2 separate regions of the Homo sapiens genome follow, and region 2 is linked to region 1. The links are contacts of gene promoters, found by promoter capture Hi-C in blood cells and fetal thymus (Javierre and others, 2016). All regions are on one chromosome and are shown on one strand. The core of a region is centred on a gene start or on the middle of the fragment in contact, and the rest is flanking DNA. Distances in the headings are between cores, read along the strand shown.

Region 1 (5,407 bases), core at 1,285-3,784:
TTCGATGAATATGCATACATTTATTTAGCAAATGTTTATTGAGCGCCTACTACATACAGGGCAAGGCAGTGTGCCAGGTGCCAAGGATATGGCGGAAAACCAGACAGACGCAGAGTCCCCATGGCTCCAGAGGTGCGGGGCCAGCCTTGGCCAGTCCTCCTCAGTGCCCCCTCGAGGGCCTGGGAAGGGTGCAGGGTGGTGGAGGTGGGGGCAAGCTGGGAGAAGTAAAGGCTGCGGTAAGTGGCGACGGCAACAGGAGCCGAAGCAAGAGGCGGGCGTGGCATGTGGCCAGGGCGACGTATCCGTCTCGAAACTAGACACGAGACGCACGTGCCGCAGCGGCCTCGGAGACCCCCTGCCCCGCTGCGGCCGTACACACCACAGCGTCTACGCGGGGGCGGGCATGGGCCTAGGGGCGGGGGAGGTGGGAGGCAGATGGGAGCCCGCCAAGACTGGACTGTCTTGGAAGAAGGCGGCTGAACCGTGCGTGCGCGGCCGGAGCGGGGGCGCGCGATTGGAGCAGGCTAGCTTGGAAGGAGACCGTAGAAGTCTGCGGTTCCGTGCCCAGACTCTGGGGCCTGGATTCCAATCGCAGGCCTGTTGCTTATATATGTCACCTTGCGCAAGTCCCTTAGCCTTCATTGCGGCTCATTCACATCACTGGTAAAATGGGTTTACAATAACCTTAGGTTGCTGCGAGGACTAAAAGGGACAATACCTGGAAAGGCGTTAGTATGATGCTCAGCACGCAAGAAACGCTCCGGGAGCCGAGGTTATTATTATCGGCTGTTCGCACCTCGCCGGGTCCCCTCACCTACCCCAGGCCAAGGCGCCCACTGCTCTCTTCCAAGGGACAGGCGACTAACCTATTAGGGCGCGTCCTGCCTAGATAGATGTATTTGCTTGGTTGGGGCGGGGTTTGGAGTGAAGCAGGGAAGAGAAGGAGATGGTGAGGGCAAAGAAAGGGAAGAAGCGGAGGGGCAGGAGGCGGGCGAGGCGGCCTGGGCGGGGCCGGGGAGGAGCCGGGCTGGGCTCCCGGGGCCCGGGCGCAGCGCGCACCCGGAGCTGGCGGCGGCGGGGGCGGGGGCGGCGCGCGGCGGCCAATGGCGCGCGGCGCTGCAGCGAGGGCGGTGCAGGAACACCGGCCGCTGACAGCCAAACTCGCCAACTCCGCCCTCGTCCCCGCGGGATCCCAGAGCCTGAGCCGGCCTGGGGCCGAGGCCGCCCGAGCCGCGAGGCGAGCGAACATGGCAGCAGAATGAGGAGGCTGGCGCCGGGTCGTGGCCGCCGCTGCCGCGCTGCAGCTCGGGATCCCAGTCCGGCGCGCTCCGGGCCGCATCCTTAGCCGGCCTCCTGGCGGCCGCGGGATTATTTCATTCCCAACGGAGAGCTAGGAAGAAAGGAGACTCCCCCGCGGAGCGGTTCCGTGCTCTGGCAGGGTGTAGACGTTTGTCTGTGCGATTCGCCGGCTGCGCAAACGACGCGGGAGAGAGCCGGTCCCGGGCTGCGGCGGCGCGGCCGCGGGGATGAGCCGGCCATGGAGCGGCCTTGGCGGGGCGCACGCAGCGGACTGGCGCTGCCGCGGGAGCGCAGCCTGAGCCGGGGCTCCAGGGGGCTTCGAAGCCTCCGGCGCCCTGGGGGGGTCCCTGCCGCCGACTCCGGGAAGGACGCGAGCCCCGCGTGGCGGACACTGCCGCAGTCACCGTTCTGAGGCGCCCCGAGCTTGCTCCGCCTGCAGCTCGGTGCGCTCTGGGCACCCGGGCGCCTTGCCCGGTGCACGGCGGCTGGCGCACCGCGGCTAGATTGGCTACAGGAGCGGGGTGCAGGACTGGCTAGAGGTGGGTGTGTGCGCGCGTTGGACTGGAGATCCGAGCAGAAGCAGAACCAGGCGGCTCTGAGCAGCCATGCTTCCCGGGGTGGGCGTGTTCGGCACCAGCCTCACGGCCCGTGTCATCATCCCGCTGCTGAAAGACGAGGGCTTCGCGGTGAAGGCGCTGTGGGGCCGCACGCAGGAAGAAGCGGAGGAGCTGGCCAAGGAGATGAGTGTCCCCTTCTACACTAGCCGCATTGATGAGGTGCTGCTGCATCAGGACGTGGACTTGGTGTGCATTAACCTGCCGCCGCCCCTCACCAGACAGATCGCTGTCAAAACCCTAGGTGAGCGACCCCTACCCCGCATCCTCCGTCCCACCCCCGCCCTTTAACCTTCTCTAGGTTCCTTCCCCCCTGCCTTTCCCTCTCCGCATCCCAGAAGCTTACCCTGCATCTACGCTGCCCCGGGGATCTGAGATCCCAGATCCGACTCAGAGCTCCCTCCTTCCTCGTCCCCGGCCTTCCCCACCTTTGCGCTTCCCTCCTGCCTCCTGGCACCACTTGGACGCGCTTCCCCACGTGTGTAGATTGCAGGCTGGAGAAGGCGTGTGTTCCGGGGATCCGAACTAGGAAGATCAGATGCCGATAATAGGGGATAGGGTGCTCCGCGAGAAGAGGAAAGTTACTCCTCAGCTGTGTGTGTAGTGTCCAAGTGTGTGTGTGTGGGGGGGGGGGATGGGGGGGTGGAGGAGGGTTGTGCGCGCGCGCGCCTGGGAGAGGCGAGTGCGCGCCCAGAAACGCCTGAATAAAAGGCCGCACACGTGTGTCGGGTTTTCTTGGGTGCGATAGAGGACCTGCCCTTCAGCAGCGGTGGCGCCCTGCTAGGGTCGTTTGTTTCTTTCTGCTGTGAGTTAGTTTAGCGTGAGATTGCAGATGTTACCATCGGCTGGAATTATTTCGTCTGCGCTGGAGGCAAGGACGGTGGGAGTGGTTGGATGGGGGTGATGATGTATTAGAATGTTTTCAGAGGCGTCATAGGTTAGTAAAGACTGATTTGGTAAAACCAGGGGGTTTTAACTTTTGACTGCAGCCTCCCGGGAAATGTCTTCTGCCCCAATTTGGAGTAATAGATTTTAAATTTTTAGGAGGATGGGCGCAGTAGCTCCAGAGGCATGGATGCTTTGCATGAGAAAAGGCCCTCCCTAATCGCCTTCAGGAATAGTTTCGGAAGGCACAGTGTTGACCCGTGGGCTGGAGATGAGTTCAGGGTGCCTCACCATCTGGTCCCTGCTCCCCTCAACTCCCAGGCAGTCTGAACAATCTCTGAGGACAGAGTAGCAGCCTCTCAGCCTATGCTCAGGGGAAAGAGAAGGGCATGTTTTGTTCATCATCAGTTCTTGCACGTAACCTAAAACAATCCCAGGAAGGTTGCTTGATCTTACAATTCCAAGAAAATGAGCAGCTCACCTTTGAAAGCTGAAGTTTCTATTGGTGAGGAAAAACACAAAGCTTATAACAAGAACAAAGCTTATAACCAGATGAAGCGAATAGTAGAACAGATTAGAAGGGAGGAGCTGCGAAGGAACAGAGACAACATCCAGAAACCAGCCGGAAGTTATGTAGTCTTGGAAAGACTGTTTTATTTGTTAAAAATAGGTATGGATTCAGGGTAGGTGAAATATACGTGTGTTTTAATTCTGTCTTCGAAGAGCTATGAACAGAATGTAAAACTCTTTCTCCATAGAAAGGCATTTTCATCAGGCCATTTGGCTATTGACTCAGATGCAACATCTGATAGAATTCCTAAGGAGGCTGCCCACATTGTCAGTTTTAATTGTCAGTTAATTTTATTAAGTGTCTGCCCTTTGTGGCCTGTTTCTTTGGCCTTGAACTGAATGCCATTGAACTGAATGCTAATATTTATTTTCTGTTTAATGGAACATGTATGTTGGGTGGATAACTCCCTTGTTTACATTGGCTCTTTGCATATCAAATATCTTATAACGATCTTATGGTATAATTCTATTAGTGCAATTTGTACAAAACTGGTCCCTGATGAGCCCTGCGTATACTGGAGAGCTTAGGACTGGTCATATCTGAAAGACCATGTTGTTAACATCGTTTCTCCACCATAAAGATGGCAGTTCCTGTCCTGGGTTCAGACCCACAGAGCAAACCTAGAGCAGGAGGGTGGCAATTTGGGGAACAAGGATGACCTTGTTTTCTGGCTGTCTCTGGGACCATGGCCATGAAAGTGTCTGGGGGCTCTGGTTTCAAGAGATGTGACACAAATTAGACATTTCTGGATACTTCTTCTGTTCTTATTTTTCAAATATCCCTGTGACTTTAATTAACAAGACATGTCTGTTACCTCTTCAAAACCAGCGATAAGAGGCATAATAGACCTAGTTTAGTAATGGTGATGACAGAATAGGGTTTTGTTCATGTTTTTAGGGTAGGTTTTGAGCTTCTTTCTTCTTTCTTTTTTTAACTCCTTCTTTTGCAGGGTGCCCCTGCGAGTGCACAGTGGGGTGGTCGTCTTGGTTTGCTTTACAGTCACTGTTGAAGGTTCAACACATAGAACGTAGGAAGTGAAAAACCCCAAACAGTTATCAGGCTGATCTGGCTGTTGGGAGTGTATAGATACGAGTGTTTGCCTGGAATTGAAACTAGCTACTTTGACTCATCCTGGTAAATTGTCCTTTTAGCAAAGGCCTGGACTTTGAATTGCTTGCCCAGTGAGGGTGACAGGTCTGTAGCCTTCGATCCACACTCATAACTGGTCACAGGCCTGTCAAAGTAAGGGGCTAGGGACCCTACTTTGTAGGGACCCTACAAAGTGTGGTCTAGGGACCACAGTGAAATGAAACTTCAGATCAATTGAATCACACACATCCTCCTTTAATTTTTAAAAATTTCCTCAAAATCCCTACCTTTGTGAATGAGGCATTCCTCTGTTGTAGAGGCATTTCTACCAAGTGTACTTTCTACACTGTCCAAGGCTGCCTCTTATTAAGTACATACTGTATGCCAGGCAGCATGGTAAGTGCTGTGTATAAAGCATTTCATTTCATGACTAAAATAATCCTCTAAGATAGATATTAGCTCCATTTCACAAATGAAGCAACTGAGATTCAGAGACCTGAGTCACTTTGCTCCTAGACCTACAGCTAGAGATTTGAACCCAGCACTCTACCTCCCCCGGAGTCATTTCTTCCTCTTCCATCAGCTGTACCTGTTCCTCTGCCATAGATCATGGCAGCCCAGGTCAGACTGTTGGAGTTGTCCTTTATTCCATCCCAGCCCTGGAATCGGTTCCCAAACCTGTTTGATGCCATCTGAAACTCTCTGTGTCTGTTCCCCATAGAAGTCAGGTCCTTTCGTAGTTTCTGAACTAGGTTCCAGTCCACCCCACCCAACCCTGCCTCTAGCCACTATCTACACTGCTGCCAGGTATGGAGTATCTGGCAGTGCTAGAGACCTGGTCATGTCATCGTTTCCCCTTTCAGGAAAAGCCCCAGCTGATTGGCGTGACATGCCCAGCCTCACATCCTGAAGAAGTGAGCCCAGCCTCACGTCCTGGTGGCCATTCCCG
Region 2 (6,122 bases), core at 834-3,333, 51 kb before region 1:
TTGAGGAAGAGTGTATTCAGATATTTTACCCATTTCTGATTGGATTGTCTTCATAAGAGTTCTTTAAATATCCTAGATGCAAGTCCCTTATCAGATGTATGATTTGCAAACATTTTCTCCCATTCTGTGGGTTATCTTTTCACTTTACTGGTGGTGTCCTTTGAAACATAAAAGCTTTTAATTTTGATGAAATGTAATTTATCTATTTTTTTCTTTTGTTTTTCATGATTTTGTTGTCATATCTAAGAATCTTTTGCCACATCTAAGGTCATGAAGATCTACCTCTATTTTCTTCCAAGGGTTTTATAGCTCTTGCTCTTACATTTAGGTCTTCGACCCATTTTGAGTTAATTTTTTGGAGATGGTTTGGGTAGAGGATCCAACTCCATTCTTTTGCATGTAGCTATCCTGTTATCTCCACACCATTTGTTGAAAAGACTGCCCTTTTCCCATTGAACGATCTCAGCACCCTTGTCAAAAATCAATTAACCATGGGTATATGGATTTACTTCTGGACTCTATTCTATTCCATTGATTTATGCATGTTTCCGTGTGCCAGCACCACATTGTCTTGATTACCCTTTCTGCTTAAATGTTGTTACAGTATTTCATCAAATGCATTGTGATCTTGCAGATGTTAAAGTGTAAAAAGGAAGGATCAGTGTTTCTTGTATCCCAATGCCTGAGATGTTAAGGTCTTAGGATTGATTAAACGCATGTGTCTGGGAAAACTTTCTTTATCCCGATAGACTAGATTAATCCTCTGCTCTGTGTCCCTGTTTCACCCAGGACTCATCACAGCATTTATCATACTATTGTGACTGTTCCTCTTAAAGCCAGCGGTTCTCAAAGTGTGGCCCACAGACCAGCAGTATCACCCTCACTTGGGAACTTGTTAGACATGCAAATTCTCAGACCCCCACCCCAGCCCACTGAATCAGATACTCTGGAGGAGGGGCCCAGCCATGTGTATTTTATCAAGGCCTCTGAGTGAATCTGACACACACCGAGGTTTGAGAGCCCCTTGATTCAGAAGGTCTGTGAGGGTAGAAAGCACACCTATCTGCCCACCATTGTGTCCCTAGCACTTGGCATGGTGCCTGGTATGGATTAACAATCAATAAATGTTGAATAAATAAATAAATGAACGAAGTGCCGTGACTTGCCCAAGGTCATATGGACAGTAGGTGAAAGCTGAGAGCTACATCACCTCTTTCTGTCTTGGTTGCCGGGCTTATGGTGTGAGGTTGACAGGAATATCCTAATTCATTCAACAAGCATTTGTTAAAGAATTACTGCGTTCTCAACATTTTGCAAAATTTGGCCAAATGCTCTAGCTTTGGTAATAAAATGTGAGGCATCAGTAGATAACTTTGTAGGATCATTAGAAGCACTTCAGGTTCAGAAAGAATTGGGGAAAGTTAGACTTTATTAAACAGCAGGGGGAGCTTTGTGAAGAAGAAAGCAGCCCATGTTGTAGGGCAAGCCAACCCAGCATAAGGACACTTATTTATTTAAGAATAAATTGGTTCAAAGCCGCTTTTACACTCAATTCCTATAGACACACCCTTCTTCCTATTGGATTTCATTATCTGGACATTCTCTTTACACAGGCTTAATAAAATCACTCTTAAGATAACAACAAAGCTTTAAAGAACATATTTGTGAAAAAAACAACAATATTCTAATATTCTGAAATAATAAAAAATTCAGCTAATCACAAAATAAATGCATGTCACTGGGGTTATATATGTTTTATATTAGGCATATTATGCCTAATAGTTTTAAGTTCTAATGAGGCAAAAAAGGTGAAAGGTTAACTAAACAAAGGACATTGTTCTCCTTGATTTTTGAATGGTTATATGGATTCTGAGGATGTGTTTTCATAATTATTAGAACATCGATGCTTTTCTTTTAAATCTTTGAGAGTATTTAAAGTGCATTCTAAACAATGTTTGGCACAGTAGTAGGAAACCACTCCTGTAAATTTTATTAGATTGCTTTGGGAAGGTACAGGTTATCAGAACAGAGGAAACCGAGTTATGCAGAAGACAAAACACACTGTTTATGGCCAACTTCTGCATCCCCACAAAACACACTGTTTATGGCCAACTTCTGCATCCCCACAGAGTCTCATTACTAAGCAAAAGCCTTCCTCAATCATCCAACTTTAATTTTATAACACTGTTTTAATAGAAATCCACATTGTATCCTGCTTTATTGGAAGTGGGTCTCATTTTGATGGAGCCAGTCCTTTGCACAAGGTTTCCCCTGAAACCTCCTGAGACTTTTATCAGTGTGCAAAGGAGACAACCTACAGCTGTTTTGTGTGAATTGGCTGCTGTTAAAACAAGACAGGCAATAAAAAGAGAAGGCAAATTTAAAGCTGTAAAGCAAAGACTTTGAAATCAGAGTGCAGTGCCAGCCAGTCATTCTGGAAATATTTTAATCATTCAATAAGAAAAAAAGGTTTTCTCTAGAGTGGATGATTCTACAAAATTTTTCAACTATAAGCTTTCAACTTCAATGGAGATGGAACAAATGAGTGGATTTATTAGTCATATGACTTCAAACAAGTTATTTAGCCCATCCATGCCTCAGTTTCCTGATTTTTAGAATGGGGATAGTAATCAATAGCACTTACCTTGCAAGCTGGTTGCGAGGGCCGCACATGTACAGAGCTTGGCAGAAAGCCTGGCAAACATTCACCGTCCAGTAGATGTTTGCCACTATGTGCAATTGTTTTCTTTGATGCTCATGTTCACAATCTCTTATCTGCATTTCCCAAATCCAAAAAAAGCTCTGCAAACCCCAAACTTGCTGGTACGATCTGTTCTGAATTGACAGGAGGCTGATGGGAGGCTTTTTTTTTTAAATACCATTTGGGATAAATTTTATATGTTTTGTAGTACAGATATTAATGTATTTACCCTTCTAAAATCCAAAATGTTCTAAATTCCAAGCCACTCTAGCCCCAGGGGTTTCAAATATATGATTTAGGGCCTATTTCTACAAGATGCCAATGCGACTCAGAGAAAAATGAACAAACAGTGGATTCATAGATACCTGGATTTGAATCCAGATGTGGTCATCTACCTTGTGGGCCTTGGGCAAGCAACTTAACTTCTCTAAAGGCTCAAGTGATTGATACACAATTCCTATTACTGCACAGGGTGCAAACTTCTTCATATTCTTGCACCTCCACTCACAACGGTATCTTTCCCTTCATTCGTCCTTACAACCAACCACTTTTGGGGATTGCCACATACCTGGTTTGTTCAAGGCCACTCTCCCACTGCACCCTTAGCTAACTATACCACAGGTGAACTGCGTATGAGCCAATGAGAAAGTTCTGTGGATTCCAAGAAGGGAGGGAATGATTCAGAGGAAGGAATTGGGTTGATACATTTCTGATACCAGCTAACAATCAACTGGGATAAATTCCCAAAGGGCTGCTGCCCCACAGGTAATTTGCACCAAGGTAAAAATGGTTAACAGCTCAAGGTGGTGATGGGTTTAATTCATTTGCAAATTAGAAAGGGAAAAAGTAGAGTCTCACCTCACCATGTCATTGCTGGCTGCCAAAAGATTGGAGAATGTGGGAAAGGCAAGATCCAGAGGTGGTTCATTGGCCTGGACTGATTTATTAGAGAGGTCGCTTTAGGCCAGAAAACCTCAACCCTGACTCCTCAGCCAGCACCTTAAACAATGCCCATCCAAGGCAAGCAGATCGCTTGAGCCCAGGAGATCAAAGCCAGCCTGGGCAACATGATGAAACTCCATCTCTACAAAAAATACAAAAATTAGCCGGATGTGGTGGTGCACGCCTGTGGTCCCAGCTCCTCAGGAGACTGAGGTGGGAGGATCGCCTGAATCCAGGGAAGTCAAGGCTGCAGTGAGCTGTGATTGGGCCACCGCACTCCAGCTGGGGTGACAGAGTGAGACTCTGTCTTAAAAAAAAAAAAAAAAAAAGAAAAAAGAAAAAAAAGAAAAGCCAGGTCCCTGTTCAGATCAACTGGATCAGAATCTCTGGTGTGGTGTGTGCAGGGGCGGCGGGGGCAGGGGGTGGGCTGGGGGTGTGCAGGCAGATGTCAGTAGTGTAAAAAAATCTCCAGGTGATTCTATATTCAGCTTGGTTGCCACCTGCTCACTGAAGACACCTGGGAGTTTTAGGAAATAAGTACTGATGCCCAGGTCCTCCCCCAGAGATGCTGAGCCAACTGGCTTGCATATAAATGGCCTGGAATGTGATGGATCATCAGGATTTTTTTTTTTTAAAGTCCAGAGTGATTCACAGTGATCCAGGTTATCTCCCAATGTGCAGTATTCATTTCTCCTCACAACTAGGTTTCCTGGAATTTTTATCAAGAATTCCAGCTGCCGTAACAATAATGTTCAGATAATACAATTTGAAAGTTTATTTGGTTCTTTACTGAAAATTCACCTTTTCAGGAAAAGATTTAATTTTTGAAGTGCCTTAAATAGGCTGGGCAGAGTCTAGTGAAAATTGAAAACACAACTGACAGCCATTGAATTGATTACCTGCCTGGGTATTTTTCTCATTACCAAGAATTACTATTATCAGATGAAGGAATGGAGAATACAGAACATGATTCATGATTGTTTTAAGTAAGTCTGCAAGGTTAGTGTGTATCACATACATGATGTACCTTTACATATTACTATATGTTTCATGTTTGAGAATGTCTTATTTTTCACTGGCAGCTAAATAGTTGATTGACATCCCTGCCTTTATGGCACTTCACCAGGTACCTGAGACTCCAGAAGTGAGGTGACAAACCCTGCCTCTCAGAGCTGAGCAGTGACTGAGCAGTGGAGACTGAGCTCACTTACTCTGCACTTTCTCATCATTCCATGACTTTGCTTTGCATCTACTGTTGGCAGCTGGAAGGGCCAAGGGTCCTTGCATTGCCCTGACCTTCAAGGGCTCCGGATTTCCTGTGAGAGATGTCCAAGCTCCTTATCTGGGCATGCACAGCCTTGTTGGATCATCAGCCTCTTCTCCTGCCCAGCCCCAACCATGCCAGCCACGTCGGGCTGCTCCCTGCTCCTCCAAGGCCTCTCCTGGCCCCTGCACCTTTGCCACTCTCCACCTGTGGTGCATATAAATACCTCTTTGGGGAAAATAAGAATTAAAGCCCTAGTCCCTCTATGATCCAACAGAAGTGTACTCGGTTTGCTTGAGAGAGCCCTGGTTTGTATCAATATATGTCGGCACTTTAGCTTTCCTAGCGCAGGAGTGTTTTATATTTATTTTGATAAAAACATAATTCAGAATATTAGGTGAGCCTTTTAGGGAGCTTCGATTTATTCAATGCATTGGTGAACTCCAGAGTTGACATAAATGTGCTCTTTTGGGTGAGAACTCATCCTGCCTCTCGTTTGCAGGACCTAATGAGATAGAATTATAACGTAATTTTTTTTTAAGACAGAGTCTTGCTCTTGTCGCCCAGGCTGGAGTGCAATGGCATGATTTCGGCTCACTGTAACCTCTGCCTCCTAGGTTCAAGCAATTCTCCTGCCTCAGCCTCCCAAGTAGCTGGGATTACAGGCACCTGCAACCATTCCCGGCTGTTTTTGTATTTTTAGTAGAGACTGGGTTGGCCAGGCTGGTCTCAACTCCTGACCTCAAGTGATCCGCCCACCTCGGCCTCCCAAAATGCTGGGATTACAGGCGTGAGCCACTGTTCCTGGCCAATTTTTTTTTACATATAAGAATCCTTTCCATCCGGTCAAAACTCTAACACTCACTGAATGGTCATTGCGGAGTTTAAGAGGGAAATCCACTTAGAGCATGAAGGACCGGCCTGATACCCTGGGCCTTCTGATTTCTGGTTTTGAGACATGTTCTTTGCAGAGAGTACTCACTCCTTCTTCCTCTGTCTTCTCCTTGACTTTATTTCTTTCTGTGGGCTTTATGTCAACTAGGTCAGGCTCCAAAATCCCCAGATAATTGCTTTATTTTAAAAATAAAACGTAATTGGTGGTACACATGAACATAAAGATGGAGAAAATAGACTCTGGGGACTCCAACGGGATGGGAGGCTGGGTTGAAAAATTACCTACTGGGTAAAATGTCCAATATGTGGGTGATGAAGACA

The links. The method cuts DNA at HindIII sites, captures the fragments that hold promoters and counts their contacts. A CHiCAGO score of 5 or more calls a contact.
Region 2: a fragment that was not itself captured here is called in contact with the fragment with the promoter of GFOD1-AS1 in region 1 in 3 of 17 cell types (endothelial precursors, megakaryocytes and total B cells); the score reaches 7.1 in endothelial precursors.

What each region holds. Positions count from the first base shown.
Region 1 is chr6:13,483,388-13,488,794 of GRCh38, reverse strand. It overlaps GFOD1-AS1 (GFOD1 antisense RNA 1), which reads right to left and starts at 2,534. Exons shown (of 2, transcript NR_046709.1): 1 at 2,342-2,534; 2 at 2,024-2,114. GFOD1 (Gfo/Idh/MocA-like oxidoreductase domain containing 1) reads left to right here and starts at 1,195. Exons shown (of 2, transcript NM_018988.4): 1 at 1,195-2,157. The coding sequence starts at 1,905. RefSeq lists enhancers at 144-273, 1,834-1,943, 4,579-4,648 and silencers at 334-443, 824-1,203, 1,224-1,703, 1,844-2,007. The HindIII fragment of the contact is 1,067 bases long and covers 2,257-3,323 here.
Region 2 is chr6:13,533,595-13,539,716 of GRCh38, reverse strand. No RefSeq gene overlaps it. Among named protein-coding and RNA genes, the nearest start is that of SIRT5, 38 kb to the left of the region's middle. The HindIII fragment of the contact is 867 bases long and covers 1,650-2,516 here.